Regions from separate parts of the Homo sapiens genome. Here all the other regions are linked to region 2. The links are contacts of gene promoters, found by promoter capture Hi-C in blood cells and fetal thymus (Javierre and others, 2016). All regions are on one chromosome and are shown on one strand. Each heading gives the region's core, a stretch centred on a gene start or on the middle of the fragment in contact. The rest is flanking DNA. Distances are from core to core; before and after follow the strand shown.

Region 1 (7,242 bases), core at 818-3,317, 570 kb after region 2:
GAATATATCCATTTCTTGTAAGTTTTCTAGTATGTTGGCATGTCATTCTCGTAATAGTTTCTAATGATTCTTTGTATTTCTGAGGTCTCAGTTGTTATGTTTCCTTTCTCATTTCTGATTTTATTTATTTGGATCTTCTCTCCTTTTTCCTTAGTTGGTCTAGCTAACAGTTTGTTGATACTATCTTTTCAAAAAGCAAGTGTTTCGTTTCATTGATAGTCTGTATTTTTTTTAGTCTCAATTTTATTTCTGCTCTGATCTTTATTGTTTGTTTTCTTCTACTAATTTAGGGTTTGGCTTGTTTTTTATTATCTAGGTCCTTGAGGTGTATCATTAGATTGTTCATTTGGAGTCTTTCCTTTTTTTTTTTTTTTTTTTGACATAGGTGTTTATGTTATAAACTTCATTCTTAGTACTGCTTTTGTCATATCCCATAAATTTTGTTACATTGTATTGCCATTTTCATTCGTTTCAAGCAATTTTTAAATTTCCTTCTTAATTTCTTCATTGATCCATTAGTCTTTCAGGAACATGTTGTTTAACTTACATGTGTTTGTATTTTCTGAGGTTCCTCTTGTTATTGATTTCTAGTTCTATTGTGTTCAGAAAAGATACTTAATATAATTTCTATTTTTTACAATTTTTTCAAGCTTGTTTTGTGGCCTAAAGTATAGTTTATTCTGGAGAGTGTTCCATGTGCTGATGAAAAGAATATTCTGTAGCCGTTGGGTGAAATGTTCTGTAAATTGCAGTTAGGCCTATTAGATCTAGTATGTAGTTTAACTCCACTGTTTCTTTGTTGATTTACTGTATGGATGATCTGTCTGTTTTTGAGAGTGGGGTATTAGCTCTCCTACTATTATCATATTGTAGTCTACCTCTCCTTTTGGATCTATTAGTGTTTGCTTTATATACTTGGGAGCTTTGGTGTTGGGTGCACAGATACTTATAATTGTTATTTCCTCTTGCTGAATTGACCCCTTTATCATTATATAGTGACCTTCTTTGTCTCTTTTTACAATCTTAGGTTTGGTAGTCTGTTTTATCTCATGTAAGTATAGCTACGCCTGCTCTTTTCTGGTTTCCAGTTTCATGGAATATCTCCCACTCCTTCGTTTTCAGTCTATGTGTGTCTGTATAGGTAAATGGGTTTCTTGAGGGCAGCATATAGTTAGGTCTTCTCTCTTTATCCGTTTAGCCACTCTATGCCTTTTAATTGAAGAATTGAGAGCATTTACATTCAGTGATATTATTGATAAGCAAGGACTTATTACTGCTGTTTTTTGCTTGTTTTCTGGTTTTGTTTTGTTTTTTTTTGAGGCTTCTCTCTTCCTTTTCTTACTGTCTTCTTTTGTGGTTAAGTGATTTTCTTTGGTAATATGTCTTAATTTGATGCTTTTTATTTTTAGTGAGTATATATTAATAGTTTTTGTGCTGTAATTACCATGAGATTCACAAAAAAAAATCTTATAGATAGAATAAGGTATTTTAAAGAGATGACAGCTTATTTTATATCACAAACACAAGAACAAAAACAAAGGCTAAAACACACTCAGAAATTATACATTTAACTCCATTTCTGTTCCTGCCTTTTTGACTATCTCTTTAACATGTTGCTATAGCTATTATTGCTTTTGATATATTTGTCTTTTGGGCTTCATAGTAAAGTTATAAGTGGATTGTGTACCACCATTATAGTAATATAGTCTTCTGGGTTTGTCTATGAACTTAATTTTACATCTTGGGTTTTATATCTTGAAAAGTTTTCTTTTTGCACATTAGTGTTTTTTTTTTTTTTTTGTTTTTTTTTTTTTTTTTTTTTTTACAAATATTGTTTATTTTAATGAAGCTGGTACAGACAATGTCCATTTAAAACCCATATCCCAGGCCAAAAAGTACAAATAAAATCAAAAAGAGCAGTGTTCTGTTGTATTCATTTCTGCATGTATAGCTTTATTAATTGCTAATGAAAATTAGAACTTTTCTGGGATCTTCTGACAAGATTTTTAAAAAATCTTAAAATGCCTTTTCTTCAATGAAGCCATCTTTGGAGTTAGTCATTACTCTCTCCTTATCAGTTATCTTGACTTCAACCCGATATTCCTCTTCTTTTGGTCCAGACCCTCAAATTTAAGAGTAGCTTGAAGTTAAGGAAAGGTCATTTTTCCACAGTTTCAGTTCTCTGAAACACTTCCATCTCCCACTGAAAGTCACAGTCCAGGAGTGAAGTAATCACATGCTAGAACATCAGGGCCAATTCGCAAGTTATTATGAACGCTTGCATTGGTCAATCTTATTTATCACCACAAGCCTGAAAATGCAATGTCCTGAAAAAGGTGGGCTCTCTGTGCACACGTAATTTTTAAAAAGGAGAGGGTAATATGAAGGGGACTGAGGCTTGATCACCAAAAATCAGCACAATGAAAATAAACAATAATGAATAATGAGCACTAGAATTCAGATTACCAGATGTTTCAAAGAGATGGGGTGCCAGTTTTCAATTCCGTTTTTAACACCACATTACAAAAGAACTATTTTTAAAAATGAGAAAGGATTGAGGGAAAAGAAAAAAAATAAAAAGAATATCTAAACTGTTGAATGACCCCCCATTTGTTCCTGATAAACTTCAATCACATCTTCTTCCTCCATTCCCAGTTCTTTTGGAGTATGATTATCAGCAATTCTCTGACCCTCAAAGAGAAACCTGAATGAATTCATTGGAACGCCCTGTCTTTGACAGTATGATTCTTTGAGTTTCTTGAGATGTGTTGTCATTTTCACTTTGAAGTGAATCTCACTGCTATCCTGTCCAATGACTTTGAGTTTAATATATTCACCTTCCTTCTTATCCCCCAAGTCCTCAGTTGAAGGTTTTGCCTCCTGGTCAGACATGATGACAGTGGCTTCACCCGGGGGTCTCCGCACAGCAGCGGCCTCGGGTAAGCAGAACCTCACTCCGGGGTTTACAAATCCTTCTCCCTTCCCCACAGCACAACACCGCAGCTGCAGTAACTTCCGCTACCACATTAGTGTTTTTTTCTTTCAGATCGAAGAACTACTTTTAACACTTACTGTAAGATGGATCTGGTGGTGGTAAATTCTCACCTTTTGTTTGTATGGGAAATACTATCCTTCATATTTGGAAAATAAAATAATCTTGCTGGGTACAGTATTCTTAGATGTCAGGTTTTTTCTTTGAGCACTTGGAAAATGTCATTCCTCTCTCTCTTGGCCTGTATGGTTTGCATTGAAACATCTATTGCCAGACAAATTGGAGCTCCTTTGTGTGTTCTTTGCTTCTTTTCTGTTGTGTATTTTAGGATCCTTTCTTTGTCCTTGACTTTTGAGAGTTTGACTTTTATATGCCTTAGGGTAGTCTTACTTGGGTTGGACCTGTTTGGTGTTCTCAGGCCTTCCTGTACCTGGATATTTCTTCCTCAAGTTTTGGAAAATTTTCTGTAATTATTTCTTTGAATAAGCTTTCTACGCTTGCTCTTGCTTAGCTCCCTCTTGAAAACCAATCATTCTTTTTTTTTTTTTTTGAGACAGAATTTTGCTCTTGTTGGCCAGGCTGGAGTGCAATGGTGCGATCTCAGCTCACCATGACCTCCGCCTCCCGAGTTCAAGTGATTCTCCTCCCTCAGCCTCCCGAGTAGCTGGGATTATAGGCATGCACCACCACACCCGGCTAATTTTGTATTTTTAGTAGAGACAGGGTTTCTCCATGTTGGTTAGGGTGGTTGCAAACTCCTGACCTTAGATGATCCGCCCACCTCAGCCTCCCAAAGTGCTATGATTACAGGCATGAGCCACCACGCCAGCCAATTGTTCTTAAATTTGGTCTTTTGAGGCAATTTTCTGTATCTTGTAGTCTTGTAGGTAGTCTTTGTTCCTTTTCATTCTTTTTATTTTTTCCTCTGACTTCTTTTTTTTTCAAGACAGGGTCTTGCTCTGTCACCCAGGCTGGAGTGCAATGGTACAATCTCAGCTCACTGCAACCTCCACCTCCCGGGTTCAAGTGATTCTCCTGCCTCAGCCTCCCAAGTAGCTGGTATTACAGGCATCCACCACCAGGTCTGGCTAATTTTGGTATTTTTAGTAGAAACAGGGTTTCACTATGTCGGCCAGGCTGGTCTCGAACTCCTGACCTTGTGATCCACCCACCTCGGCCTCCCAAAGTGCTGGGATTATAGGTGTGAGCCACCATGCCCAGCCTGACTGTGTATTTTTCAAACAGCCAGTCTTCGAGCTCACTGATTTTTTTCCTCCACTTGGTCCAGTCTGCTATTCAGAGTCTCTAATGAGCTCTTCATTTCAGCAAATGTGTTTCTGTTTCAAGATTTCTGTTTGATTTGTTTTCATTGTTTCAATCTCTTTGTTAAACTTCTCTGGTAAATTTCTTAATTGTTTTTCAGCCATCTCTTGGCGATAACAGGGTTTCCTTTAAACTACCAGTTTTAATTCTTGGTCAGAGATCACAAATTGCTGTCATTTTAGGGTCAGTCATTGTATTTTTGCTTTGTCCTTGTGGGGAGGTTATGGTTCCCTGTTTGCTATTGTTTATTTTGGGTATACACCTATGTCTTTGTATTGAAAGATTAGTTACTTATTCCAGTTTTCTCTGTTTGGCTTGCTTTGGTTTTTATTGGATATATTTGCTTAGCAAATCTGTACTGCTAGGTCACTTCCTCCTCTTTGGCTTTAGGTGACACCTTAAGTCCGGGTTCACCTTGGCTTTAGTAAATGACCAGAGCATTGTCTGTCCTGAATGGGGAGGTCCCAAAGGGATTATCCCAGCTGTGTGTCAAGGCTGGCTAGAGGTTCGTGTATGGGCAGACCTGTGGAATATACTTCCTGCAATGCAGTGCTGCTGAGCAGCCACTCTGATTTGGCATCTCCTTTGGCCAAGTAACAGAGCAGAGTTTCTGGGGCTGGGTGTGATAGTCTTGCCTCCCCGCTTTCTCTCTGCCTGTCCTCAGGGATATTTCCCCTTTCAGGCAGTCGTGATGCTTCCCATGGGTTAAGTCAAGGTTAGATCTCCTGCCAGGGCACCCAGGAAGATGGGGAAGGTAGTTGACCTCCTCAGTCTCACTTTTTCCAGTGTAGAAACCATGAGTTGGGGGAGGGCCATTGCAGATGTGGAAATCAGATGCTCTTACCATCTGCTCAGAGTTTTTTCATCTCTCTGTGGCCCCAGGAACTGTCTCATTGTCATATTTGAGTTCTGGGTTGTTGCTGATGAAAATCTCAGCACTGTATATTTGTTTTGGGTTTTCTGTGGAGGGGAGTGAAGCCAGCTTGCTTCTATACCACTGTTTTGAAACTGAAAGTATTCCTTCTTTCCCTTTTTTCCTGTGGTGGTACCCTTATTTTGAGGAGTATGAACATAGAATTCATCCATTCATTTGACAAATATTTATTGAGTACCTCCTTTGTACTAGACTTTGTTTAAGGCTCTGGAGATACAGCGGTGACTAAAACAGATAAGGCCCCTGTCTGAAGGAGCTCATATTTGTTCTAAAATGGCAACTCCTAAAGTGGCAGGTCCCTGAAAAAAAGAAAAAATAACAAAAATTGAAAGGCCAACTAGGACAGTTGTTATCAGGACAGATAAAACAGGATAAAGGGATGGAGAATGATGAAAAAGAGGTGTTTGTTTTTTTGAGACAGGGTCTTGCTCTGTTGCCCAGCCTGGAGTTTGGTGGTGCATTCACGGCTCACTGCCGTCTTGACCTTTTGGGCTTGGGCGATCCTCCCCCTCAGCCTCCTGAGTAGCTGGGACTACAAACGTGCGCCACAACACCCAGTTAATTTTTGTATTTTTTGTAGAGATGGGGTTTTTTACCATGTTGCCCAGGCTGATCTCGAACTCCTAGGCTCAAGTGATCCCCCTACCTTAGCCTCCCAAAGTTCTGGGATTACAGGTGTGAGCCACCATGTCTGGCCAAGAGAAGAGGTTTTATAATCAATAAGAGGGTCAGAATGAAAGAACCAAGACATGTAAAGATTAAGAGACTTAAATGAAGAAGATTGCCATATTAGAAAGAAGTTGGCAATTTAGCATTCTGTAATAGTACTTAGTTCTTGATGAAGAGGATGTCATATCTCCAAATCCTAAAGTTATAGTAGTAGGGAATTGTGATGACCTAATTCTTTTTGTCCTTCAGAATCAAAGGCATGGGAGGTTGATACCTGCCGGGGCCATTACAACAATGTATCTTGTGCCGTCTTCCACCCTCGCCAAGAGTTGATCCTCAGCAATTCTGAGGACAAGAGTATTCGAGTCTGGGATATGTCTAAGCGGTAAGGTAGTCCTCAGTGTTGTGTGAACTTTCTCTTACTCTCTCTTTTAAAATTAGATTGGAATACTTCTTTATGTCTCTCATCATCTTCAGCATGTAGACAAATCAAATCATATATTATGAAAATTTGAAGAGACCTAGAGATCAGTCAACATTTACAAATTTTCCATCAAATAGAAATCTCCATGTATATTATTTTTTGCCTCTAAATTTAAACATGTTTTCTTCTTCCCCCTTTCCCCAGTTCTGTAGCTAGAGAAGTAAGAAATGCGGAATGAGGCCGGGCGCGGTGGCTCATGCCTGTAATCCCAGCACTTGGGAGGCTGAGGCGGGTGGATCACGAGGTCAGGAGATTGAGACCATCCTGGCTAACACAATGAAACCCCGTCTCTACTAAAAATACAAAAAATTAGCCGGGCGTGGTGGCGGGCGCCTGTAGTCCCAGCTACTCAGGAGGCTGAGGCAGAAGAATGGCATGAACCTGGGAGGTGGAGCTTGCAGTGAGCCGAGATCGCGCCACTGCACTCCAGCCTGGGCAACAGAGCGAGACTCCGTCTCAAAAAAAAAAAAATGCAGAATGAAAGCCATAAAATTATGCTGAAAAGGGGAAATCTATATATCATAATAATATGGTCAGTTTTGAAGTCTCCTCTTTTTGTTCCTTGGTAGAATTTATCACGACTACTGTTACTTAGGATATGCAGTTTACTCTCCCTGATTTACATTTTAATCAGCTTGCTGGCTTACCATTTAATATTCTTGTGTAGGATGGGCTGAAGATTCCTAGGAAATTAATGTTTTTCTTTTTGTGTACCTTTTCTAGGACTGGGGTTCAGACTTTCCGCAGAGACCATGATCGTTTCTGGGTCCTAGCTGCTCACCCTAACCTTAACCTCTTTGCAGCAGGTAAGGGCCATTTTCTCTCTTTTTTCTTTGCTTA
Region 2 (6,893 bases), core at 2,018-4,517:
ACAGAGTGAGACCCTGTCTAAAAAAAGAAAAAAAAAGTCAAATACTAAGGAACAAATAGCAAATCATACACAAAATCCCTATAAGGAAGCTATAAGATACGAAAAAGCAATAAAAACACAAATAAATGAAGAAACAGGCCACACTCAATATTTTAAAGACGTAAATTATTTCTAAATGATCTATAGATTCAATGTAATTCCAATAAAATCCTAAAGGGTGTGTGCATGTGTGTGTGTGTGTGTGTGTGTGTGTGTGTGTGTGTATGTGTAGAGGTAAACGACCAAGAATAACCAAAAAAGAAGAGCAAAGTGAGAAGCCTTGCTCTACTGGATATCAAGACATTTTATCAATCTAAAATATTTGGAACAATGTGGTATGGGCACAAGGAAGTGCTGATTTCCATCACAGTCAGGCCAGTAATTACCTTTGGGAAGGGAGAGGTCTGTTATCTGGAAGCAGCATATGGGAAGCTTCTGGGTGCTGCTAAAGTTTCATTTCTTAGCTAGGATGATAATTACACAGGTATTTGCCTTTCTTGTAATTTATTAAACTGCACATTTAATGTTTTATATCTTTCTCTGTATGTGTAATTTTACAACAAACCTTCTCCAAGTCACTGGAGATGTAGATGTGGGGCTGGAGTGAGTTGGTGGTGAGGGGCTTTCTTCCACACTCTTCTATCTTCATGCACATCTATACTGTCACATACGTACCTATACTCTCAGCACTTTGGGAGGCTGAGGCAGGATTGTTTGTGCCTAGGAGTTCGAGACCAGCCTGGCCAACATGGTGAGAACTCGTTTCTACCAAAAATACAAAAGTTAGCAGGGTGTGGTGGTGTGTGCCTGTATTCCCAGGTGCTTGGGAGGCTGAGGTGGGAGGATCACCTGAGCCTGGAAGGTTGAGGCTGCAGTAAGCTGAGATTGTGTCACTGCACTCCATCCAGCCTGGGCAACAGAGTGAGACCCTGTCTCAACATAAATAAATAAATAAAATAAAATAAAGAGAAGCTGCTGTCAAGCAAGCCTGGATCTTGCCCTCTCTCTCGATTTTCTATTTCATGAGGTAATAGATTTACTTTTTAGAAAAGCCACTTTGAGATGGGGTTTCTATTAGTTACAGCTACAAGGAACCAGACTGAACTAAATAAATGTCCAGGGCAGTGGGGTTTGGAGGAAGTTGTGTGGGGAACAGATTCAAGAGGAAGTAGGGGTAGAATCAATGGGACGCAATCACTGATTGGATGATGATGGTTAGAAGGGGTAATGTCCTTAAAATGGATGTACTGTTTTCCCAGTCTATTAGATGGCATCATGTACCATTAAGGATGAGATGCATAATGATATTAAAGATGTCAAAATACAAAAAAAGTGTCTTAGAATCAACTAAAGAAAGTAGTATAAGTGTATATTTTCTTTTTTTATTTTTGCAAATATGTTACTGTTTTATTAAGCCATAAAGTTTTCAGGTGGTTAGTTACACACAGTAATGAACAACTGAGGGGATGTTTAATTTTTTTCTCTAGATCTTGGGCCCTTGGTGTTAACTTTATATACATGTATTTACTATTGTGAACTGTAAACTTAGAGACCTCTATTTTTTTTTTTTTTTTTTGAGATGGAATTTCACTCTTGTTGCCCAGGCTGGAGTGCAATGGTGCGATCTCAGCTCACTGCAACCTCTGCCTCCCGGGTTCAAGCAATTCTCCTGCCTCAGCCTCCCGAGTAGCTTGGATTACAGGCGCCTGACACCGTGCCCAGCTAATTTTATATTTTTAGTAGAGACACGGTTTCACCGTGTTGATCAGGCTGGTCTTGAACTCCTGACCTCAAGTGATTGGCCACCCTCGTCCCCTCAAAGTGCTGGGATTACAGGTGTAAGCCGCAGCGCCTGGCTGAGACCTCTATTTCTAAGAGGTTGTTGTTTGTAAATATGAAAGCTGGGTATGTTCATTTTGTTACCTATACTGATGAGTTAATTTAGTTTCTAATACATTTAATTTTATTTAATTAATTATTTTCCAGATACACAGAGCAAATAGCTTCTAATAGATTTTAAATTTACAAAAGTATAACTTTTTTTTGCAGTTTTTCTTCTTGGGTGCTATTTTATTTTCTTCTATCAATATGTGAGTATTTTTTGCAAATCAGTACTTTGAACCAACAAATAGGAAATATTAGCTTAACAAAAAAGATATTCACAATCTTTGTAAGAAAAGGTTGCAGTATTATTAATGCTATAATGACATTATGTATTAAATGTATGATATCACTGGGGAAGAACTGAGTAATTCTATTACAGCTGCAGGGTAGCATTTGAGAACTTCATGACATAGGAGCAGGAATAAGACAGGAGGTTCGAAGCAGCAGAGAGGTTTCGTATTGATTCAGTTTCAAATGAATCCTGTAGTAAATTTTCCCTCGTTTGTGGCAAAATGACAAAATTAAAGACAAAGTAGTGAGTCTTTGTGTGAAACTAAATTATTCAAACTAAAGATTTATATATTTTTTAAAACTTTTCTATTCGTATTTTTTTGTGTGTTTTGTATCTCTTTCCCCTCCATTCCTTTTTACCAATTTATTCAGAAATGATCACTTTCCCATTTTGTTAAAATTTCCTTTTTCTATTTCTATGAATTGATAATTATGGCCAATGATTAATTTCATTTATTTATTTATTTTGAGATACCTAAGCTGAAGTACAGTGGCACGGTCATATTTCACTGAATCCTCTATCTCTGGGACTTAAGTTACCCTTTTGCCTTGCCTCAGCCCCACCTGAAACTATAGGCAAGTACCACCATGCCATGCTAATTTTTTTACTTTTATTTTTAGTAGAGAAGAGGTTGCCCTATGTTGCCCAGGCTGGTCTCAAACTCCTGAGTTCAAGTGATCCTTCTGCCTTGGCCTCCCAAAGTATTGGGATTTGAGCCAATGTGCCAAGCCAACAGATGCTTAATTTAGAGAAAGTTTTTATTTTGCAAGAAAGAAAGGCACAAAAACCCAAAACCAACACCAACTCTTGTTAATCTCTTCGTCTACTTCCTACTTGACACAGGTCCATGAAACCCCCAGATCCAGGAACAACGCTAGCAGGTGATTCTTAGGATTGGTTTTTTCTTTAGAACCTGTTAATTCCACTGTATAAATAACCTCCCCGAGATAACCAGAAGCCTCCCCTGCACTGGGCATTGTGCCAGGGGAGGGTGAGGCTGGAAACCTTGGTTGGCCCCACTGGGCTTCCTCCATAAAGCTTTCTGCACCTCATTCCACATCAGGAGCGTTTTTGGAGAAAGCTGCACTCTGTTGAGCTCCAGGGCGCAGTGGAGGGAGGGAGTGAAGGAGCTCTCTGTACCCAAGGAAAGTGCAGCTGAGACTCAGACAAGGTCTGTGAGTTGGGGGAATCCTGTTTTCAGCTTAGGTCTGCTTTTGGTCTCAGAGATGTGTGAAGTTTAAACAAAAGGCAAGGGGTTTTGGAGTCTTTGTAAGACTGGACAGGGGTGGGGCAGGGATGTAGAGAAAAATGATGGCCAAGATGGTGACCTTCATCTTGCTTTCTTTAGATTACAATGAACCAACTCAGCTTCCTGCTGTTTCTCATAGCGACCACCAGAGGATGGAGTACAGGTGAGTCACGCTGCTAGGGACAGCAGTTCCTTCAGCTGGATGACTTCCGGGATCCTGGTCTCTCCCAGGACACAGAGCATGTCCTTGAGATGCACAGCGGCTGGCTTGCATGTAGACTGAGTGCCGATTTCTGGTCTCTGGCGGAATCTGGCCTGTGGCAGTGAAGGTATTGCTTGAGGCATGTCCTGGGTCCAGGCTCTGTGCTTTTGTGTGGCCCTGAGGGGGCTGTGGCAAGAACTGTGTCACCTTCCAGCCACTGCCCACTCCTGTGGCCTTGGCTGTGGGATTTCCATGGGAACTACATGGTCTGCTTTGTGCCTGGAGAATGTTCTCTCCACAGTTTTCCTCTCTACAACAAGAATAACAATGACATTTTAAAATTTATATTTTTCTTCACGTCTAAAAATTTTTTTTTTAAAGAAAAGGCTGTTTCGAAATATCTTCTTACTTCATCTTTGCAAAAGCACTGTTTATTAACTGTGTTTTAGGTATGAGGAAACTGAGGTCAGTCACCTCTGACCTCACAGCTTTCCCCTAGACTGTTCGAATAGTTTGCAGACTTTTTGGAGTAGAGATTAGTCTCACCACTCCCTACTTCACACCCCATGTTTCAGCCATATTAAGCAGCTTGTAGTTCTACAGCTGGACTACGCTGTATTTTTTTTTTTTTCTCTAGGCCTTTGGATATGCTGTTTTCCCTGCCTTGGATTGGCTTCCTACTGATAAATCATGTTTATTCTCTCAGAATAAGCTAAGATGTCACCTGGACTGGAAGGTCTTCTGTGACTAAGACATGAGACAACCCGTCTTGCCTTCTTCTCCCAGGCAACTGCCCCGCTTACTGTCTGGCGTTTCCATTCTCCACTGTTACCTCAGAGTCTTTCTTTTGTTCTCTTGAGTTTGCCTTTCTTCTACCATTTATTCTTGTCAATACAATTTTCTGTTGACTTGTTAGCAATTCCCTCTAGAGGCAAGCTCTTGCTGGGGAACTTTAATGTCTTTGATTACTCAGTGCTTAGGGCAGGACCCAGCACAAGGACAGGTCTTGTGGCGGGAGGCAGACTTTAAGCCTGTGCTGGCTGTCAGGTCGGATGGGCTGAGTGGATATGATGCCGATGGGCTGAGTGGATGTGACACTGATGGGCTGAGTGGATATGACACTGGCTGTCTCAGGCCTTACCACCCGGGCAGCGAGGTTCTGCTACAGTGGTGGAATGAGCGTGGGACTAGTGATAGGAGAGGGTAGGTTTTGTGTCAAACCGGGAATGAGAATAAACCCTGTGTATTCCCTAGATGAGGCTAATACTTACTTCAAGGAATGGACCTGTTCTTCGTCTCCATCTCTGCCCAGAAGCTGCAAGGAAATCAAAGACGAATGTCCTAGTGCATTTGGTGAGTGATGAAACATTCAAACAGAGCTCAGTCAGGGTATCAGGATTGTGTCTTCTGGGAGTCTTTTTGTCTTTTAGTTAAAAAATTATGGTAAAGTATATGTATATTATAATTTACATAAGATTTGCCATTTTAAGCAACATTAAGTGTGCAATTCAGTGGCATTAATTACCTTCAAGGTTGTGCAACCATCACAGCTATCCATATGCAGAACTTTTTCAGTGCCCCAAACAGAAACTCTGTACTTAATAACATGGAGGGGCCGGGTGCGGTGGCTCAGGCCTGTAATCCCAGCACTTTAGGAGGCTGAGAGGGGTGGATCAGTTGAGGCCAGGAGTTTGAAACCAGCTTGGCTAACATGGTGGGGCCCTGTCTCTACTAAAATACAAAAATCAATTGGGTGTGGAGTACATGTTTGTAATTCCAGCTACTTGGGAGGCTGAGGTGGGAGGATCGCTTGAACTCAGGAGGCAGAGGTTGCAGTGGGCCAAGATAGTGCCACTTCACTCCAGCCTGGGCAACAGAGTGAGACTCCATCTCAAAAACAAAAACAAAAACAAAACAAAACAAAAAATAACATGGAGTTATTAAGCAATAACTCTCTTCCCTCAGTCTCTGGTAGCTGCATTTTACTTTCTATCTCCATGAATTTGCCTAGTGTAGTTACCTCATGTAATTGGAGTCATATGGTATTTGTCCTTTGGTGTCTGGCTTATTTCACTTAGCACAGTGTTTTGAGGGTTTGTCCATGCTGTAGCATGGATATTTCATTCCCTTTTATCCACTGCAGATACATATATGCACACACACCATGTTTTGTTTATTCATTCACCTGTTGGTGAATATTTGAATTGTTTCTTCTATTTGGCTCTTGTGACTAATGCTGCAATGAACACTGGTGTAAAAGCATCAGCTTGAGGCCCTGTTTTCAATTCTTTTGGGGATAGACCTGCAGTGGAATTGCTGGGTCATACAATAATTCCATGTTTAACTTTATGAAAAATGTCACTGGGATTTTATACAATTCTATGTTCTGCCTCAGTTACAGGAGCATGATCTTCTGAACTCAGGGAGGCCCCAGTACCCCTGGGAGCACTTAGTGATGTGAGTCAGGACAGGAGCCTTTAGGCCATGTCTCTGGTTCCTAGGGCCTTTCTTGTCATGGGGCTGAAATGAACCCTCAGCTCTCAGACAGGGAGGCTCTGGGCTGGTTCTCTCTACAGATGGCCTGTATTTTCTCCGCACTGAGAATGGTGTTATCTACCAGACCTTCTGTGACATGACCTCTGGGGGTGGCGGCTGGACCCTGGTGGCCAGCGTGCACGAGAATGACATGCGTGGGAAGTGCACGGTGGGCGATCGCTGGTCCAGTCAGCAGGGCAGCAAAGCAGTCTACCCAGAGGGGGACGGCAACTGGGCCAACTACAACACCTTTGGATCTGCAGAGGCGGCCACGAGCGATGACTACAAGGTTGGTGCCACTTCTTACCCACTCGGGTGAGGGTGAGGAGTGGAGTGTGGCTGGCCACAAGCCTGCAGGAGGGATGGCTGGAAGGTAGGGGTGTGGGATGGGCTGGAGAAGAAGAGAGAAATACTTATATCTTTTTTTTTTTTTTTTTTTTTCTTGAGACGGAGTCTTACTCTGTTGCCCAGGTTGGAGTGCAGTGGTGTGATCTCGGCTCATAGCAACCACGGCCTCCTGGGTTCAAGTGATCCTCTGCCTCAAAAGTAGCTGGGACTACAAGCGCCCACTACCATACTCAGCGAATTTTTGTACTTTTAGTAGAGATGGGGTTTCACCATGTTGGCCAGGCTCGTCTCGAACTCCTGACCTCAAGTGACCTGCCCGCCTTGGTCTCCCAAAGTGCTGGGAT
Region 3 (6,781 bases), core at 3,317-5,816, 530 kb after region 2:
ATAATGGTGACACAGAGTACTCTGGGTAAACAGTATCTCATCCTAATATGTACCTTTGAGAGCAGTGGCCCAGAGATGAAAAAGAAAAAAATAGAAAATCCCTTTACTCAAATAAGCTGGGAAAGAAACACCAGTGGGTAGGAAAGGCTTCGTCTTGAGGGACGAGATATCACAATAGGCAGAGGCAGGCTGGGTCTTGGGGCAGGAGTGGTCAGTTATTCAATTATTGGCATGGGTTGGGAGGAAGAGAAGGTACAGTGTCAGCTAGCAACAAGCAGGAGTAGGTAGGGAGGAAAGCCCTCAGGGAAAGGAAAGGGGCTGGAAAATGAAATATTTCAGAAGGCATGGGTAGGCAAGGCCTAGATCAAGGGAGAGGTGGAGGCTAAGGAACTGAGAAGTACATGGCCCATTAGATGCTTCCAGCCAGTCACACATGGTCTTCAGGGCATAGGAGATACCTGGTAAGAAGCCAGAACCATGGTCTCAGAAAGGGAGGGTGAGAGCCCAGTGGGTCATCTGGATGGCTGTGCTCCTTCTATGGGGCCTGGCCTCTCCATGAGCCATGGAAAAAGCTAAGCTGGTTTTTTAGGAGGTGGAAGGTAAGGGAACATGGAAGGCAGCAGACAAGCTTGTGTTCAGGATGCTTCCCTAGGCAGAGGACATTGAAGTAGTGACAGTCCTACATCTTGTAACTTCTTACTTACCCCTTGATCACGATTCCGCCCAACCGTGTTTCCCTGTTCAGCCCCCTCACTGGTACCCAGCCACTTCTCTGCTTCCTGAAGCTGCCAGCAGGATGAGGGAGTTTACTGCTCTGTCCGCTGGGAGACCTGTTGGCCGAGGGAGGTGTGGAGCCTGGCCCAGTCGATGGTGGCAGCTGTGCTCGACTTCCGCCAGCATCACACAGCCTCTCCAGCTCAAACTGGGAGGGTTGGGGTGGGGGAGAAGTAGCAGGGTGTATTTCATCTCTTGAACTCCAAACATGTCTCCCTTCCCCCCAGGGGAACTTGGAGAGAAACCTGGAGAAAAATCACCTCTTCTCAGCAGGATTTGAAAAGGTAAGTAGTCCAATCAGGGAACTAAGAGGAGTGCTTGAGACCCTGTGAATACTGCCAGCCAGTCCCTTTCCATTGCTGCGAGTATTCAGGCACGTGTCAGAAGCAGCCTCCTGGCCAGCAGTGGAGTGAAGGCTGGGTTTAGGCTTCTGCTCCTGCAGGTTCTCTTTCCCCCTTGGCTGACTCAGCCGCTGCCCACGATTATTTAGCAGTGCTGCTATACTCCAGAATTTTGCCTCCGTGAAGACCCAGGGAATTTGAGGATCTCTACAGAGGTGATGTTCTTTTTCTAAAACAGTCCAAACTTGTTTTGGCCTACAAAAGGCCCACCATTAACAGAAACCCAAACTCCTTAGCAGCATGCCAGCCAAGAACTTCGGGATTTAGCCCAACCTCGCCTCCTGCTGATGCTTATGGCTCAGACACACTGAACTTACCATCTCCCAAACATGACTCACTCCTTTTCTTGACTCTGTGCTTCCACAACTGGTGAACGCTTTAAATCATCACTTGAATGTCACCCCTGACATGGTCCTGAGTTTCACTATGTGCTACCAGAGCACTTGGGATATGCTGCAATTATTCCTTTTATTACACTGGATTACATGTAGTTGTGAGAATGTCTGTCTCTCTTCTCATCCCAGCTGAGCTACTCGAGGGTTAGGGTTATATTCTCTTCATCTCTGTACCCCAGCCAGTGTCTCAGAGTGAATAAAGAAATGCCTGTTCATGGCCGGGCGCGGTGGCTCACGCCTGTAATCCCAGCACTTTGGGAGGTCGAGGTGGGTGGATCACAAGGTCAGGAGGTCACGACCATCCTGGCTAACATGGTGAAACTCCGTCTCTACTAAAAATACAAAAAAAATTAGCTGGGCGTGGTGGTGGGTGCCTGTAGTCCCAGCTACTTGGGAAGCTGAGGCAAGAGAATGGCGTGAACCCGGGAGGTGGAGCTTGCAGTGAGCCGAGATCGCGCCACTGCACTCCAGCCTGGGTGACAGAGCAAGACTCCATCTCAAAAAAAAAAAAAAAAAAAAAAAAAAAAAAAAATGCCCGTTCATTACAAAGTGAGAAGAAACTATGTTAACATTGTTCTTACAAGAGGAGAACCAGGGCTCTGCAATTTGAAAGGACTTCAACTGTTTTTGACAGAGCCTTACTCCTTGGGTCCTCTGGAGCCCAAGATGATAGCATAAAAGATAACTTCATGACTTCCAGTCTAGGCTCGCTGAACAAGGTGGCCTGGGAAGAATAACTAGCAGTACAAGTCGTGTGGGATAATCTATTTTAATGAAACTCATTATATATATATTTACAAAAAGAATAAAGGAAAAAGACAAAAACAAAAATAGATATTACAGCTTAATAAAAAGTACAACTGAGCACTGTGGGCTGGAGGTGGGATACCCACCCGCAGCACGCCCACCCTAATGTGCCATCTGAGGGCCTGGAGAAAGGACAGTGGGAAGGAGACAGTAGGCTCAGCCCAGAGATGCCCCTGTCCTCAGGGGCTCAATGTAGTTTGACCCTGACATTAAACCTTTTATGTCCTTCCCAGTCAGGAAGGTGGCTGGGTACAGGGGTGGGGGTGAGGAGCAGAGAGAGGTACAGGGCAGGAAGGAAAAAGTAGAAGGGTCCTGAAGGGCAAATTAGGGTGGGTAACTAGGGAGTTAAACAGGAGCAAGAAGCTTCTATTTGTAATCCCAAAATCTGGCATGAGTAGAGAAGGAAGAGGAAATGGGGAAGGGGTGATGGGAAAGGGGAGCGGAGGAAGGGAGGCAATTTATTTATTTCTCCCTGTCTCTTTTGGATAGTTCCACTCTTTTATGTTAATCCCAATCTGAGACAGGCCCAGGGAGGTTCCAGTGACAAATTAGTGGTTGTGTCCCAGTGGGACAGATGCTCTAGGAAGTGAACTGCTGAGCTGGCAAGAAAAGCTGGGGTCCTCCTCAGTATGACACAGCTCCTGGCTCCCGGGGAGCAATGAAAAGGACATCAGCTTTGGCATTGATGCAGTAGGTGACGATGAGGGAGAAGATGAGGATGCCGAAGCCCACTGTCAGGGTGATCAACTGCAGGGGGAGGGAGGGCAGGAAAGGACAAAGGCATTCTCAGAACTCAGTGCAGTTTTTTGGATAACTGTTTGGGGTTTGGAGCCATGGGAATTCGGATGCTGGCTCTAAGCACCAACTATGGAATAATCATGGGCAACATCTCTCCAGCCTACAGACTTTGTCTCCCCATTTGAAAAGAGAAGTAAAGCATCTCTGTTCTTGCTTCCATCTTGTATTACTTAGATTTTAGGCATTTTGAAAGGAGGGCCCATGGCTTTGGTTCCCTTGCGGCACTTACATTACTGACTTGTGACAGGAGCTCGGTACATTAGACTGACTCATCCCAGCTGTGCCAGATGGGGAATGCCAGCCGGGAGTTGAAGCTGTGAAAGAGTTCTGGGATCCACAGGGGCTCTCCAGAATGAACACCTACTCAAACTATCTGTGAAGAAAGGCCTCCTGGCCGGGTGCAGTGGCTCACGCCTATAATCCCAGCACTTTGGGAGGCCAAGAAAGGTGGATCACCTGAGGTCAGGAGTTTAAGACTAGCCTGACCAACATGGTGAAACCCATCTCTACTAAAAATAAAAAAAAATTAGCTGGGTGTGGTGACACATGCCTGTAATCCCAGCTACTCGAAAGGCTGAGGCAGGAGAACTGCTTAAACCCAAGGGACGGAGGTTGCAGTAAGCTGAGATTGTGCCATTGCACTCCAGCTTGAGCAACAAGAATGAAACTCCATCTCAAAAAAAAGGCCTCCTAAGGGAACATGCTGGCTGACCAGGGACAGATTTGCAGTAGGCTTTTGCTACAAATGTGGGGCAAATGGGAGATGGAAAGGGCTATATGACACAAGAAAGCAGAGAAAGAAGTCAAACAGATCCCTGCCACCTATGCCCCTGCCCCATCTCACCTCAAGCTCTTTGCTGGCGATGAGAAATATCCGGGCACGGATATCTTTCCAGCGGCTCTCAGTCCATGTAGAGTATTCAGTAGAGCTCCACTGACTCAGTTCAAAGGCAGGAGACAAGGCCCTGGCTAATCGTGCAGTAGAACGCACACACCGGGGGAGTCGGTCCGTCTCATTAGAATGCAAAGGGCCCTGGACCCATGAGTACTCATACAGCTGCACAGAAGATGCGCCACAACACACGGCTAGGGTGATCCTCTTCTCACTCGTTCCCTCTACCCTCTATCAGTGCCATGCTCTAACCAATTGAGCTAACTGGCTGCTGTCCCTTTACCCTTCAGATGGTCCATTTTCACCCAGGCTTTTCAACACCCAATTGCTGAGGACTGCATCTCTCCACCTCTCCATCCCAATCCCCTGGGTCTAACTAGGTCTAGAAGAACCTCCAACTTTCCCAAGGGAAAGGGGCCCCAGGGCACTTCCAACACCCACCACCACTCACATCCTTGTTTTCACTTGGGACTTTACTTGGATCCTGGCACTGCTCTCGGGTGAGGTTGACCACTGTGCCAGTCAAATTTGCCAAGGCATACTGTACAACATAAGTGGTGTTGGTGGGGCTGGAGACAGCGATGTAATGTTGAAGAGGCCCGTCACCTGAGTGCAGACCAAAGGGAAGGGAAGATTTGGTGGGTGGATGGTGGGTGAAATAGGAAAAGCCCAAGATTGGCAGCAGCCAGAAAGAAGGGCAATGGAAAAGGATCCATCAAATATGAGAAGAAAGAAAGGAAAACAGGGGGTAAGAAAAACAGAGAGGAAAAAGAAAAAAAATAATAAAGGTTAAACCAAAAGACTTTTTCTCTATCCCTTTCCTCAGCTAAGGGTCCCATTCCCACACCAGATGCTTACCCAAGTAGGACCTTAGGTCCTGCCTGAGGATAGACTGGAACCATGAGTTGTTGGCTTTAATCAGGAACCCATAGAGCAGGCGGGTAACCTAGGATTGGAACAGTAAAGAGAGAAAACCCTGTGACTTGAAGGGAGCCCAGGGAAAGAATTATCAGTGGAGACCCAGTCATGGGGCAGGAACCAGACTGGCCAGATAGACTGGAGTTGGGAGACAGTAGCTGGCTCATAAGATGCAGATGAGGCCCACCCAAGAGCTCTCTGGGGCATGAGGCATTCTCACCGGCATCAACAGTCATGTGGAATTCCAAGGTTTGGGACACTAGGGCAAGGGAGGATAGGGACAGCTTGCTGTGTAAATAGAAAGAAGGAGCTAGGGCCCATCTGCTTACCGTTTGGGGATCAGCCTGAACTGTGTCGCTGAAGTTGGTTCCTCCTGCAAGCTCATACAGAGCACGTCCCAGCACCGTGGCCACATCTGCCAGGGCCTGTGGTAGGTGAGGAGGGGGCTGAATGGCCCACCTCTCCTATCCTCAAATGCTAGCATCTTCACTGTGTGCCCCAGGCTCCCACCCAGCCTGGCTCAGTGCTACCTTGGCAGTGTCTGTTACAAAGTTCAGGTCCTCTTCAGGGCTCAGCCATTCGGGATAGCTCACATTAATGTTCTCAGCAGTGTCGTAAATACTCTGGTAATATCTGCCAGGAAAGCCGGCATGAGCCTTGGCTACATTTAGCCAGGGCTCTGCCCCTTTCCTCCCTCAAATGCTCCTTATGCAGGGACTCAGTATCTCATTTTCAGCATCAGAAGAAAGGGGTGAGAGACAATCAGGATCCCATATTGCAGAAGGTGTGGAGAACAGGGAGGTAGGAGTGAGGGTGAGGTGGTTAGTGAAAATTAAAGACTTTCCTGACAGACAAGGTAGAAAAGCTGAATGAGCTCAGATCTTTAAACAAAGGAGAGACTCTTCTACATCATTTGGGCTGGAGATATGGGGGATGGCTAAGATGATTTTCAGAGAACTCTGCCATGTATCATGAGATCAGTTGTATAACTGTTCCAATGAACATTTATATTTAGGGTAGCTGGGAGCAGGAGGTGATTAGCAGGTCTTAGGATCAGGTCTGCTCACTGATATATAAGAATACACTGATAAAATCACCATGATGATCCTTATGGAGCCCCAAGGAGATAGATCTTAAAAGAGAGGCTGAGCTCCACAGTCTTTACCATCAGTAAATCCCTGTCCCACACAAAGTCAAGTCAGCTACATAATCAAATCCAAAATGTGTTCAAATGATGAATCTTCACTTGCCCCAAAGTGGTACAAGGATAGCTTTAGAGAAGACAGCTGACCCTAAGTGCTAGGACGGTCACTCCCCTAAATGAATGAGAAGGTGCTACTTGGCTGGGGTCAGAAATAGAGCTCAAGCATTTTCACTACGAAACTCATTTGGCCCTCGGGAAGCTTGGCAATCCAGCCTGAGTAAGAAGTCCCCTGTTATCCAAGGCCTCAAGTTAGGAGCAGTTAAAGGGTAACCCAGAGTTACCCTTTGTATCTCTGGAGCCCCATCAGCTATAGGAGGCACTTTTACCCTCGCACTGAACCATGGCCATCTACCACATGGCAAGAACATGGTACATTTCACAGAGTATGAATACTGTTTCTGGCACCTCTGGGTGAGTTCCAGAGAAGGACTGCTTTCTGTCTTCTAGCCAAAGGGCCCCCACCATCCTTCCCATGCTTGTGTTTGAGATGATGCCCTCTGCTGGCAACCCTGAGGAACTCAGGACCCTGGAGAGCTAGGGAGCAGTGGAACCATAACCAAGGATTGTTGACAGTAAAGGGCTAAGGGTGAGG
Region 4 (6,876 bases), core at 3,416-5,915, 730 kb after region 2:
CTCACTCAGCTCACTTATCATAGGATATAATTTTCCACGGGACTTCATCATTGTGTATTTGGCCACATCCTGCTCCTGCTCCCACTAGATCCTCCCACTCCAATCCTACCTGAGGCACCATGTTCTTAAAAGACTCCATGATCTTGGAGCTCTTGGCCTCCTGATAATAGGAGAAGCAGCCAGTGACGATGACCACGACGGACAGTACGATGCTCAGGTAGAGCTGAGGGTGGGGAAAGAAAGCGTTTATCAGTGGGACCTTGTCGTCTTCTTCATCCTCAGAAAATCAGTCTGCAAGGGGCACAGCAGTTTCACCAGGTGTAAGAGACCGTAAGACTGAGTTGAGAGCAGAGGGGTAGAGAAGAATCTGAGGTGGGACCAGTACACTTGGCTTCCTGGGGAAGGAACCCTGAGCCATGGTGAGCCGTCAGCAAAATTCCTGGTCAGAGAAGGCCTGTATCTTTCTCTCCAGGAAGGCTAATCTCTGGATGGAGGGGGTGGATTGTGAGGGAGGCTGGGAGGAAGGAGATGAGGTTAAAATTGTGGAGAAGAGAAAGGGACTGCAAAGTGCTTTGGGGATCAATTGGGAAGGTCATCAAAGAACAGCAAGTTTTTCGGGGACATTGTGCACCTCAGGGAACTGGACCAGAAGCTTTTTAGATTAAAAGGTGAGAGGAACCAAGATGGAACTTAGAAAGTGGAGTATTAGGGATTTTGGTTTATTACATTAATGTACATTTATTACATTATTATGTAATGTACATTTATTACATTAATGTACATTTAATTACATTTTATAATTAATTACATTCATTACAATGTAATTAATCAATTACATTGTAATTAATTACAATCAATTACATTTATAATTAATGTACATTTATTACATTATTACATTAATGTAATAATGTAATTAGGGATTTGGGCCAGAGGACTTCAGGAGTGCTAGGCTGCTGAGCAAAAGAGTGTCTGGGGCTAAGCAGAGATAGGGCTGGCTAGTAGTAGCTGAAGAGACTCACGTTGTCTTTGGTAGGCTCCTCATTGAAATATATCTGGATGCTGTAGGCCACAAAGCAGAGAATGGCCCCAGTCCATAGTAGGAGGGAGAAGCCTCCGAACAGTTGCTTACAGAATTTGACCCATTCTGGAGTGGTGGGGGGTGGGGTAACAGTATTGGGTCCACCTCGAGTCAGGATTTCCTTTGCCCTTTGGTGGCTATGGCCCTGTGCAGAGAAGAAATAGGGTTGGATAGAGAGCTGTGAAAAGAGGAACAGCCATAGCAAAAGGGAACCTGACATTTGGAGCCCCAGAATGGGTCTAGAGACTAAAGACGCTTTCAGAAGGTCAGTCTGGAAGTTCTTCCTGGATAAGGTGAGGTTTCAAAATTTGCATTAGAGGAGGGATGTCATTTAGCATGCTTACATAGGAAGGTTTTTGTTTATGGATTGATTCACAAACCTTTTTGAACTTGAGAACCTATCTCGGGTCCTAGGTGCTGAGGATACCAACATGAATAAGAATGGTCCCTACCCTTAAGGTGCTCCAGTGGGGAGATAAATACATACAGATAATTATAATGTGCAGGGCCAATGTCATGATGAAATATAATACTTAATGTTGATAACATATTAACACCACGCTTTGACTCTCCAACTTAGAGGGAATAAGATCTAGTGTTTGGTAGCACAATAGGGCAACTATAGTTAATAATTTATTATGGATATCAAAATAATTAGAGGAGTGGATTTGGAATGTTCCCATGCAAAGAAATGATAAATGTTTGAGGTTATGGGTATCCTAAATACCCTGATTTGATCATTACACATTGTATGCTTATATCAGAATAATACATGTATACCATAAATATGTACATCTACATATCCATTTTTTTTTTTGAGACAGAGTCTTGCTCTGTCACCTAGGCTGGAGTGCAGTGGCATGATCTCGGCTTACTGCAACCTCCATCTCCCAGGTTCAAGTGATTCTCCTGCATTCAAGTGATTCTCCTGCCTCAGCCTCCCAAGTAGCTGAGATTGCAGATGTGTGCCACTATGCCAGGATAATTTTTGTATTTTTAATACAGATGGGGTTTCACCATGTTGGCCAGGCTGGTCTCCAACTACTGACCTCAAGTGATCTGCCTGCCTTGGATTACAGGTGTGAGCCACGGCACCTGGCCCATAAATTTTTAAAAAACATAAATAGAAAAGAATACTAACAAAAAACATGAATGCATAGATTCTCATTCCACTCTTGTGCACAAGCTTATGTGCTTTTTCCTGTTAATGAAAATGATAGTAGAACCTGCCAATCACCACCAGCCACTCCCCAACCTCTGCCTGAAACACCCGAGGGGCCCCAAAACCCTTTCAGGGGGTCCACAAGGTCAATTTTCATAGTAATACTAAATCATTGTTTGCCTTTTTTTACTCTCATTTTCTTAAGAGTATATAGTGGAATTTTCTGAAGGCCAACTGGCATAACATCACAACAGATTTTATCCAGAAAATATTTGAGAATCCAGCTATCTTCTATTAAAAAGCAAGACATTGAAGAGGTTTGCAAAAATGTAAGATGCTGCTAATTTTTTTGTTTTGAAAAATACAGTTATTTGTCAAAACATATATGAATATATGATAACTTTATTTTTGTTATTTTTAAATGAATTGAGAAATACATTTTAAAACTCTCAATTTTAATTTCTAATATGGTAAATATAGACAGACTTAAGCCACATAAGCACAAGTTCTTTGCGGTCCTAGATAAATTCTAAGAGTGTAAAGGAGACCTAAGGACAAGACGTTTGACCAGCACTGCCCTAAAGCATTCTTATTCTCTTATCTAGTCCCACACTCTCTTTGAGGGTAGTTACCATTTGCAGCTTTTTCCAGGTAGTGTCCATGGAACGTGGCCAGGCAGAGGGTGAGGGGTGGGAACGTTGGACTTGAAGTTAGGGGGCTGGATTCCTAGTTCAGCTTTTGTCCTGGCAGCCTCACAGTCAGAGTTGGAGACTCTCTGCCTCCTCAGGGAGCTTCTTACTCACCTTTGTCAGGTCCACGGAGTACTTGGTGCTCAGCTCTTCCAAGGTTAATTTGTGATCATCCTGAGGGGACAGTAGAGGCATTGAGGGACAGGGGGTGGCCCAGGTCATTTCCAGGGAGAGGGGGAGAAACAGACTGGAGAATGTTAGTCCAAACTGAGACTGCTCCATTTTGTAAGCTCCCTGCAATTCTTTTTTTGAGATGGAGTCACTCTGTTGCCCAGGCTGGTGTACAGTGGTGCGATTTCGACTCACTGCAACCTCTGCCTCCCAACAGGTGTTTCTCCTGCCTCAGCCTCCCAAGCAGCTGGGATTACAGGGGCCCATCACCAGGACCAGCTAATTTTTGTATTTTTAGAGGCGGGGTTTCACCATGTTGGCCAGGCTTGTCTCAAACTCCTGACCTCAGGTGATCTGCCTGCCTCAGCCTCCCAAAGTGCTGGGATTACAGGTGTGAGCCACCACGCCCGGCCTAGCTCCCCACTATTTTACAGGCCTTGGTCAAAGTGAAACATTTCACGGGGGTTCGGGCCAGAGAAACAGCCTGCCTAACCACCTGACCACAGGGCAGACGAAGGCCCAATTAAAGACAAAGACCCCACTAAAGAAACATCCCTATCACATCCTGCTGGGCAAAGGTCCAGGGAATACCATGATTATATTCTGTGGAAACAAGGGCCAAAAATCACCTCATCATGAGAACATCTTATCGATATCCTGCCAGGCAGCAGGCCATACAGCCCAGACTCCTCCCATCCATCCCTATAAGTACCCAGCCTGTAAGTGGCAGTGGACTGTGGAATTAAGCTGATCCCCCACTTCCACAGGTGTCTGCAATATACCTGTGCTTGCTGTTGAGCTGCCCTGTCTCTCTGTGTGTATCTTTTTTTTTTTTTTTAACCCTCTCCTTCCCTCCAAAGCCTAACAGAGAAGAGATGTGGCTCTGGCCTGTGTGTTTCATTCTCAAGGTAAGATGTTAAAGATAGGTGGAGGAGTGTTTTCAGAGGGCAGCTGTCAGCGCCCACTTTGGGTGGCCTCACCATGACCACTTCCTTCTTCAGTTCCTCCATATTGCGCTTCTGTTTTTCCCTCTTCACCATTTTTTTCTTGATAAGCCCTTTTTTAGGTCTTCGTCTTGGACTCTGGTCATGGGGAGCCACTGTCCCTTTCTTCCCCCAAAGCCCCATAGCTATCCCCAGAAAGAGCTGCCCGAGCTCAACTGTGGGAAGAAAGCTGAGAGAGTGAGGCAAGGGGAAGGGAAGAGGGCGCGCGGGCAAGGGGGCCACGAGAAGAGAGTGGTGGGGAGAGAATGAGGGAGCAGAAAGAAAGAGGCAGGGAGGGAGGTGTTGGGTGGTGAAGGTGAGAGAGAGGAAGGGAAGTGAGAGAGGAGAGACTGAGCGGTCCTCCAGCCGTCCGCTGGGAAGAGGAAGAGTCAGGAGTGAGGGAAGAGGGAGGAGAGAAGCCTAGGGTGGAAGGATAAAAAGGTAGAGGTGAGGGAATGCAGTGAGGGCAGGAAACAAGAGGTGAAGCGTAACCAGGTGCCTCAGTGATGAAGATGCCGCAAGGCCCACAGGAAGGTGGGAAATGCAGTGAGAGTGAGGAGGCGGAGTGAGCTTCAAGGATCTGGGAACCCCCCAGTCCCAGGCCCTGTGGTTGCTGGGGCAATGACCCAGGTCTGGCATCACAAAGGCCTCCTGAAAGTTCTAACCAAGAATCCAGAAGTCTTGCCTTGGCGATGGTCCAGGTCTGCTGTCGCAAAGGCCTCATGAAGGTTTTAACCAAGAACCTAGAAGTCTCAGTCTTTGGGTTTGAGGACGATTGGAGCAGGCCCTGCTACAGAAAGAGTTTCAGTCTGAGGGCAGAACTAGAACAAAGTTCTTGTGTGGTCCTGCAGACTTTGGAGGCTTAGAGGTATGCCAAATAGATGACTCAAAAATAAAGCGGGTATTCGGCCGGGCGCGGTGGCTCATGCCTGTAATCCCAGCACTTTGGGAGGCTGAGATCGAGACCTTCGTGGCCAGTATGGTGAAACCCCATCTCTACTAAAAATACAAAATTTAGCCAGGTGTGGTGGTGGGCACCTGTAATCCCAGCTGCTCGGGAGGCTGAGGCAGGAGAAACATCTGAATCCAGAAGGCAGAGGTTGCAGTGAATTGAGATTGCATCACTGCACTCCAGCCTCGGTGACAGAGTGACTCCATCTCAGACAAACAAACAAACAAACAAACAAACAAACAAACAAACAAAAAACCATAGCAGGGAGCTTACAAAATGGTGCAGTTGCAGTTTGGACTAATATTCTCCCGTCTGTTTTTGAGACTCCATCTCAAAAAAAAAAAAAAAGCAGGTACTCTGTGTGTGTTTTTTAGCAAGGCACACTTTTCCACTAACATTGGGTTTGATCTTTTAATTTTAGGAGATCAGCTAGCAGAATAGATCAGATCTTGGGCTCTGGAACCAGTCCTGGATTTCAATCCCAACTCCTCCACTTGTCAGCTGTGTGGCTTTGAGCAAGTTACCTAACCTCTGTACCTCTCTTTTCTTATTTTTAAAAGAGGATACCTTCTACCTTAAGTGAGGTGCTCTACAAAAAGCACTATGTGACATATATAGTATGTGCTCAATAGGTAGCTTGAATTCAGTAGTAGTTTTATTTGTGGATTAATATGCAGCTCTTCTCAGTGAGGGTAAAAATATGCTTTTCCATGTGATAGCGTTGCATTTTCTCATTTTAAAATGATGTACTTACCTCTTCCATTGACCTTCTCTGGTGTCTCAGTAAGTGCTTTGACTATATTAACTGTATATATGTTTTGCATGTCCATAGGATTCTACCTCCTTCCAAGAATAATCTGAAGCATCTATACTTTTCTGTCAACCATTATATATATTTTTCAATTATGCACGTCACATAGATTTTCCCATTCTGTTGTTTGATATTTGTTTATTTACTTTTTGAGACAGGATCTCACTTTGTTGCCCAGGCTGGAGTGTAATGGTGCGATTATGGCTTACTCCAGCCTCAACCTCCCAGGTCCAAGTGATCCTCCCACCTCAGCCTCCCAAGTAGCTGGGACCACAGGCATGTGCCACCATGCCCGGCTAATTTTTTTTATTTTATTTTAGTAAAGACGGGGTGCCCCTGTGTTGCCCAGGCTGGTCTCAAACTCCTGGGCTCAAGCAATCCTTGGCCTTGGCCTCCTAAAATGTTGGGATTACATAAGTGAGACACCAAGCCTGGCCTGATATTTATTTAATTGCATTTTGGTTGGGCATGCTTTTTAAAAATATGACTGTATCTGGAAACATTCATCTTGGTGCTGATGCAATCCTCCTTGAATATTCAGAAATAGAAATGCTCCCTTCCCAGCTGGGATAAATGATCGTCTATTTCTTTAACAGATTGGATTTTTCTTCTCTATTAAAAATGTTTAAGATAAAAATTGAAAGCCCCACCTTCCCTCCCTCCAAACTCAGATTCTCCCCACTGCTGAAGTTACTGCTGGTAACAATGTGCTGCATGTCCTTCCAGTCTTTTTTCTATGTTTATACAAATAGATATCTAAAAGGAGGTATTTTTCAACTTTTAAACAATCATTCAACTCTCTACCAACCTGTCATGTACATAAAGCTTCTTTTTTTCAGTGCTGTGAGGCTTCCATATTCTGTATTGACCATGCTCTATTCAATCATTCCCATTACTGATGGATTTATGAGATATTTTCCATTTTTTTAACCATTAATAAAATTGCTAGAGTGTCATTCTTGCACATAGATATCATCAGGCCCTTGAGCTTCTATTTCTGTAGAATCAGTTCCTGTTGCTGAATCATAGA

The links. The method cuts DNA at HindIII sites, captures the fragments that hold promoters and counts their contacts. A CHiCAGO score of 5 or more calls a contact.
Region 1: a contact is called between a fragment that was not itself captured here and the fragment with the promoter of ITLN1 in region 2, in 1 of 17 cell types (total B cells). The highest score is 7.4, in total B cells.
Region 3: a contact is called between a fragment that was not itself captured here and the fragment with the promoter of ITLN1 in region 2, in 5 of 17 cell types (naive CD4 T cells, non-activated CD4 T cells, naive B cells and 2 more). The highest score is 7.1, in naive CD4 T cells.
Region 4: a contact is called between the fragment with the promoter of ATP1A4 here and the fragment with the promoter of ITLN1 in region 2, in 11 of 17 cell types (total B cells, total CD4 T cells, naive B cells and 8 more). The highest score is 16.3, in total B cells.

The regions. Positions count from the first base shown.
Region 1 is chr1:160,313,051-160,320,292 of GRCh38, reverse strand. COPA (coat protein complex I subunit alpha) reads left to right here. Exons shown (of 33, transcript NM_004371.4): 9 at 6,168-6,303; 10 at 7,126-7,208. It also overlaps the pseudogene SUMO1P3. Among named protein-coding and RNA genes, the nearest start is that of COPA, 27 kb to the left of the region's middle. The HindIII fragment of the contact is 2,829 bases long and covers 653-3,481 here.
Region 2 is chr1:160,881,554-160,888,446 of GRCh38, reverse strand. It overlaps ITLN1 (intelectin 1), which reads left to right and starts at 3,267. Exons shown (of 8, transcript NM_017625.3): 1 at 3,267-3,386; 2 at 3,564-3,627; 3 at 4,921-5,019; 4 at 6,243-6,490. The coding sequence starts at 3,570. The HindIII fragment of the contact is 4,692 bases long and covers 3,256-6,893 here.
Region 3 is chr1:160,354,492-160,361,272 of GRCh38, reverse strand. NCSTN (nicastrin) reads right to left here. Exons shown (of 17, transcript NM_015331.3): 12 at 5,516-5,618; 13 at 5,315-5,410; 14 at 4,926-5,013; 15 at 4,519-4,673; 16 at 4,020-4,232; 17 at 2,324-3,124. The coding sequence ends at 3,002. Among named protein-coding and RNA genes, the nearest start is that of NHLH1, 9.2 kb to the left of the region's middle. The HindIII fragment of the contact is 3,648 bases long and covers 2,743-6,390 here.
Region 4 is chr1:160,149,392-160,156,267 of GRCh38, reverse strand. ATP1A4 (ATPase Na+/K+ transporting subunit alpha 4) reads right to left here and starts at 4,665. Exons shown (of 22, transcript NM_144699.4): 1 at 4,081-4,665; 2 at 3,044-3,103; 3 at 1,020-1,223; 4 at 110-223. The coding sequence starts at 4,227. The HindIII fragment of the contact is 4,407 bases long and covers 2,267-6,673 here.